2 separate regions of the Homo sapiens genome follow, and region 1 is linked to region 2. The links are contacts of gene promoters, found by promoter capture Hi-C in blood cells and fetal thymus (Javierre and others, 2016). All regions are on one chromosome and are shown on one strand. The core of a region is centred on a gene start or on the middle of the fragment in contact, and the rest is flanking DNA. Distances in the headings are between cores, read along the strand shown. Region 1 has its middle 7.8 kb from the start of GAST. Region 2 holds the start of KLHL11 (kelch like family member 11).

Region 1 (3,192 bases), core at 307-2,806, 150 kb after region 2:
AAAAAAAATTAGCTGGGCATGGTGGCAGCCCCTGTAATCCCAGCTACTTGGGAGGCTGAGGTGAGAGGATCACTTGAGCTTGGAAGGTTGAGGTTGCAGTGAGCTGAGGTTGCACCACTGTACTCCAACCTGGGTGACAGAGTAAGACCCTGTCTCAAAAAAAGAGAAAAGAAAATGACAGACAAACCAGACATGGGGGAAATTGCCAGCTTTGATAAAGCTTTGAAGGAAACGGAGATGCAGGAGAACACCTTGTGGACCAGAGACCACTGAGCAGGAGAAGCAGTGAAATTTCCTAAAATCTGGAGGATTCCCTGCCCCTGTTATCTTCAAGTCCCCAGTGGTGATGTGGAAGAAAAGCAACCTGCAAGGTGGATGCAAGCCACAAGCTGCTCTGTGAACCTGGGCACCTCACACAGATGCCACTGGCCTGTGGGTCTCTGAGGGGACCCGCAAATGGGACTGCCAAATTCTCTGGTTTGCTCCAGGATATTATAGAAAATTATTTATATGAATAGTAAAAATAAAACACACTTTGTGGCCCCCCTGCCAAAAGAATATCATTGAGAAGATTATTGCTGTGGCTAACCGGGTCTCAGTCCTGCTGGGAACTCTGGGGGACAGTAGAATATATCTCAGAGTAGCCTGGGTGAGGTGGCTCACACCTGTAATCCCAGCACATTGGGAGGGCGAGGCAGGTGGATCACCTGAGGTCAGGAGTTCGAGACCAGCCTGACCAATGGAGAAACCCCGTCTCCACTAAAGATACAAAATTAACTGGGCATGGTGGCACACATGCCTGTAATCCCAGCTACTCGGGAGGCTGAGACAGGAGAATCGCTTGAATCCAGGAGGTGGAGGTTGCGGTGAGCTGAGATTGCACCATTACACCCCAGCCTGGGCAATAAGAGTGAAACTCCGTCTCAAGGAAAAAAAAAAAAAAGAATATATCTCAGAGTTATCCCACCCCTTGGGTGGGGGAGCTGGGGTATTTATCCTCTAACTGTCATCTGACACTGTCTGAGAGATGCTTCTGGAGGCATTTAACTGCCCTGCACTTGGCCCTGAAGGAAATTAGAATGTGTTACCTCCAAATATGCCACTTTGGCATAAGGACTATTTTGAGCTGAAGGCAATTGAGAAGAAGCAGATACAAGAAAAGCTCCCTACCCTCCTATTTGCATAAAAACAGGACATACATTTTCAACTGTGTCCATCTACCAGGAAGGATAAAAGTTAAATCTCTGGGCTGGGCACGGTGGCTCATGCCTGTAATCCTAACACTTTGGGAGGCCGAGGTGGGTGGATCACCTGAGGTCAGGAGTTCAAGACCAGCCTGAGCAACATGGAGAAACCCTGTCTCTACTGAAAATACAAAATTAGCCAGGTGTGGTGGCACATGCCTGTAATCCCAGCTACTTGGGAGGCTGAGGCAAAAGAATTGCTTGCACCTGGGAGGCGGAGGTTGCAGTGAGCCGAGATTGCCCCATTGCACTCCAGCCTGGGCAACAACAGCGAAACTCTGTGTCAAAAATAAATAAATAAATAAATAAAGCTGGGCGCGGTGGCTCATGCCTGTAATCCCAGCACTTTGGGAGGCCAAGGTGGGTGGATCATGAGGTCAGGAGATCGAGACCATCCTGGCTAACACGGTGAAACCCCGCCTCTACTAAAAATACAAAAAATTAGCCAGGCGTGGTGGTGGGCGCCTGTAATCCCAGCTACTTGGGACGCTGAGGCAGGAGAATGGCATGAACCCGGGAGGCAGAGCTTGTAGTGAGCCAAGATCGTGCCACTGCACTCCAGCCTGGGCAACAGAGTGAGACTCTGTCTCAAAAAAAAAAAAAAAAAGTTAAATATCTGGAGACAACTTTATTTTTTATTATTTTTTTGGTTTCCATAATTTGGACTTATTTTATTGATACTCATTAGTGAATAAAATGTTGATTTTTGATGCATTACAATACACTTTTTGGTAGTGGTTGCACAATGTTGATCATTTATTTGTTTACTAAATACTGCAATCTCCAAATTGCCTTTTTTTTTTTTGAGACAGAGTCTCGCCCTGTCTCCCAGGCTGGAGTGCAATGGCGTGATCTCAGCTCACTGCAACCTCTGCCTCCTGGGCTCAAGCAATTCTCCTGTCTCAGCCTCCTGAGTAGCTGGGATTACAGATGCATAACACCATGCCCAGCTAATTTTTGTATTTTTAGTAGAGACAGTGTTTCACCGTATTGGTCAGGCTGGTCTCGAACTCCTGACCTCAGGTGATCCGCCTGCCTTGGCTTCCCAAAGTGCTGGGATGACAGACGTGAGCCACTGCGGCTGGCCAAATTGCCAATTTTTACATGGTATTTCTGGCAATGATGGTGGCTCGTCTCTCTGAATACATAAAATGGTCCATTCAATCCATGGTTTTCATATTCCTTTGTTATTCTATCTACTGCTTTAAAATACATTCAGGCTGAGTGCAGCGGCTCACACCTAGAGAATCCCAGCACTTTGGGAGGCTGAGGCGGGTGGATCACGGGGTCAGGAGTTCAGGACCAGCCTAGACAACATGGTGAAACCCCACCTCTACTAAAAAGTACAAAAATTAGCCTGGCATGGTGGTGCCTGCCTATAATCCCAGCTACTTGAGAGGCTGAGGCAGGAGAATCGCTTGAACCTGGGAGGTGGAGGTTGCAGTGAGCTGAGATGGCACTACTGCAATCCAGCCTGGGTGACAGAGCAAGACTCTGTCTCAAAAAAATAAAATACATTCAAATAAAAAAATATAAGTTACTTGCAACAAGTGCACACTTAGAACAGCGAGGAGAGCTGAGAACATAATTAACCAGTACTCTTGTGTTCAGAGCATAAATAGTCTGAAACCGTGGGACTGAAGCTTGCTCCTCATAGACTTTCTCCAAGTATCCTTGGTGGACGTAAGGTTACCCTCACTCAACGGAAGGACACATCTGCTGCTGTGGTGGGAGGACACAGAATGACAATTTCATTTACGTAGGACGTTTTCCTTCCATAATGTCTGGAACAAGTCGGAGACAACTTTAGACCCCTTTCAGCCTGGAGTGGCACCAGTGCAATCTAATAACAAACTTGACTCACTAGCCTTTATCTACCATTCGTTTTCCATATAGCTGCTTTCCCATGCACAGTTAGCCACCCTTGGAAGTCTAACCTAGGCTGGAG
Region 2 (2,979 bases), core at 474-2,973:
CATACATACATTTAAAATGGAAATGCAGAAAGCTGTGAAATGTCTTGTGTCTTATGTTCTCTGTATTTATGCAGCTGATTTGTCTGTCTGTAACTGAAGTGTGGGTCCAAGGACTCCTAACTACTTTGCATCTGTAATCCACAAAGATTCTGGGCAGCTGCCACCTCAGTCTCTTCTCTGTATTATCATAGTCTGGTTTAAATAAACTATATAGTAACAATGAAGGCATACTGCTGGCTCCTGGCATCCATATCCTTTGATCTGTATTCCTTTGTAACTGTACTTTTTTCCAGACAGGGTATCACTCTGTCGCCCCAGGGCTGGAGTACAGTGGCACCATCACAGCTCACTGCAGCCTCCATCTCCTGGGCTCAAGCAGTCCTCCCACTCCAGCCTCCCAAGTAGCTGGGACTACAGGAGCATGCCACCACTCCAGGCTAACTTTTGTATTTTTTGTGGAGATAAGGTTCTGCTGTATTTCCCAGGCTCTTCTGGAACTCATGGACTCAAGCAATCCATCCTCCTTGGCCTCCCAAAGTGCTGTTACAGGCGTGAGCCACTGTGCCTGGCCTGGCCTGAACTGTACTAATAGTTTCAGTATATATGGTTTTAAAAATGCTCATCTACGGTCAGGCGTGGTGGCTCATGCCTGTAATCCCAGCACTTTGGGAGGCTGAGGCGGGTGGATCACGAGGTCAGCAGATCGAGACCATCCTGGCTAACACGGTGAAACCCCGTCTCTATTAAAAATACAAAAACTTAGCCAGGCATGGTGGCGGGCGCCTGTAGTCCCAGCTACTCCGGAGGCTGAGGCAGGAGAATGGCGTGAACCCGGGAGGCGGAGGTTGCAGTGAGCCGAGACCCGCGCCACTGCACTCCAGCCTGGGCGACAGAGCGAGACTCCGTCTCAAAAAAAAAAAAAAAAAAAAAATTAGCCTGGAGTGGTGGCGGGCGCCTGTAGTCCCAGCTACTCGGGAGGCTGAGGCACAAGAATCGCTTGAACCCGGGCGGCGGAGGTTGCAATAAGCGAAGAGCGCGCCACTGCACTCCAGCCTGGGCGACAGAGCGAGACTCCGTCTCAAAAAAAAAAAAAAAAAAAAAATTAGCCTGGAGTGGTGGCGGGCGCCTGTAGTCCCAGCTACTCGGGAGGCTGAGGCACAAGAATCGCTTGAACCCGGGCAGCGGAGGTTGCAATAAGCGAAGAGCGCGCCACTGCACTCCAGCCTGGGCGACAGAGCGAGACTCCGTCTCAAAAAAAAAAAAAACAAAAAACCCAAAACAAAACAAAAACAAAAAGAAACAAAAAAAAAAACGGATAACGAGTAACTCATTCATCCCTCATCCACTTAGCTGGGGCTAGATCTTATAAAAATCCTGTATTGCCACTCAAGGCTTTAACAACAGGTGATGGTCTAAGGTGGCTTTACTCGACAAAATGACTGCAGAGAGCATGCTACCCACTAAGGAAAGGAAGCGAGCCATACTCGCACCGACGCCCTGGGGGTAGGCCTGGGGCGAAGTCTTCTGGACTGGGCGACTGTTACTGACGGACCTCACCAAGGCAGGCAGAGCTGCTGGAGGCGAGGCGGCGCTGCTGGAGGCGAGGCGGCGCTGCTGGAGGCGAGGCGGCGCTGCTGGAGGCGAGGCGGCGCATGTGCGGCCGGCGGGCGACCTGGCCCCGCCCCGCGCGCACTATTTAATCCCAGAATCCCTCTGTGTCGTACCAACAGCCGCATCGTTCCGAGGCTGTGGAGGCCGGGCGCAGCGGCGTCAAGATGGCGGCTGCGGCAGTGGCGGCGGCGGCGGCGGCGGCCGCGGCTGCATCTCTTCAGGTACTGGAGATGGAGAGCATGGAGACGGCCGCCGCCGGCTCGGCAGGACTGGCCGCCGAGGTCCGAGGCAGCGGCACGGTGGACTTCGGGCCTGGGCCGGGGATCTCTGCAATGGAGGCGAGCGGGGGCGATCCGGGCCCAGAAGCCGAGGATTTCGAGTGCAGCTCTCACTGCTCAGAGCTGTCCTGGCGGCAGAACGAGCAGCGGCGCCAGGGCCTCTTCTGCGACATTACCCTGTGCTTCGGCGGGGCTGGAGGCCGCGAGTTCCGGGCCCACCGCTCGGTACTGGCTGCCGCCACCGAGTACTTCACGCCCCTGCTCTCGGGCCAGTTTTCCGAGTCCCGCTCGGGACGGGTGGAGATGCGCAAGTGGAGCTCCGAGCCGGGGCCCGAACCCGACACAGTGGAAGCCGTAATCGAGTACATGTACACCGGGCGCATCCGCGTCAGCACGGGCAGCGTGCACGAGGTGCTGGAGTTGGCCGACAGGTAGGCGAGGGAGGCGGGAGCGCGGAGGGCGGCGGGCGCGGAGAGGGGGAGATGCTCGCTGGCGGAGGGGAGGGCAGTGCCTGCCACGGCAGCTCGCGAGTCCTGAGTGAATGCATTGGTTTCACACTCGCTGAGCGCCTGCTTGGGGGCAGCCACCGCGGTGGGCGAGGAGGATGCACCATCAGGTCCGGCGAGGGCGCCCCGCGCCCAAGGAGCTCAGATACTAGGTGATGGGACAAAAGTGATGAAAAGGAAAGTCAGTATGTGGTAACTGTTGTGCTGACGTTCAAAAGGAATGAAAGGCTAGGGATTGAATAAAGATCTTTCTGAAGAGGTGAAGTTTAGATCGACCTCTGAATGTCAAAAAATAACTGACCGTGCAAAGATGGGGAATGAATATTCCAGACAGCGCAAACGCCCTCAGGCAGGATCCAGTTTGGCTTAGAGAAGAGAATTAAAATATAGTCCAGTGAGGCTGGATCTAGTGGATGAAGGGGAGAAGGATGCGTGAGATGCGTTGGAATAAGGAGTTTGGATTTCACTAAGTGTGATAGGAAGCTGGGTAAAGAAATAGCTCATTTAAATATTTTAATATTATTCTGCCACTGTGTTAAACGGATTGTAGGGAGCAGGAATGCTCCAGAGACTGGTTAGAAGGC

What was found. Contacts are between HindIII fragments. The CHiCAGO score rates a contact against its expected background, and 5 or more counts as called.
Region 1: a fragment that was not itself captured here is called in contact with the fragment with the promoter of KLHL11 in region 2 in 2 of 17 cell types (endothelial precursors and megakaryocytes); the score reaches 5.6 in endothelial precursors.

What each region holds. Positions count from the first base shown.
Region 1 is chr17:41,718,550-41,721,741 of GRCh38, reverse strand. It overlaps a transcript of HAP1 not described here. Among named protein-coding and RNA genes, the nearest start is that of GAST, 7.8 kb to the right of the region's middle. The HindIII fragment of the contact is 2,667 bases long and covers 223-2,889 here.
Region 2 is chr17:41,864,167-41,867,145 of GRCh38, reverse strand. KLHL11 (kelch like family member 11) reads left to right here and starts at 1,723. Exons shown (of 2, transcript NM_018143.3): 1 at 1,723-2,320. The coding sequence starts at 1,776. It overlaps ACLY (ATP citrate lyase), which reads left to right. Exons shown (of 29, transcript NM_001096.3): 29 at 1-228. RefSeq lists enhancers at 538-1,038, 1,039-1,539 and a silencer at 1,573-1,762. The HindIII fragment of the contact is 13,530 bases long and covers 1-2,979 here.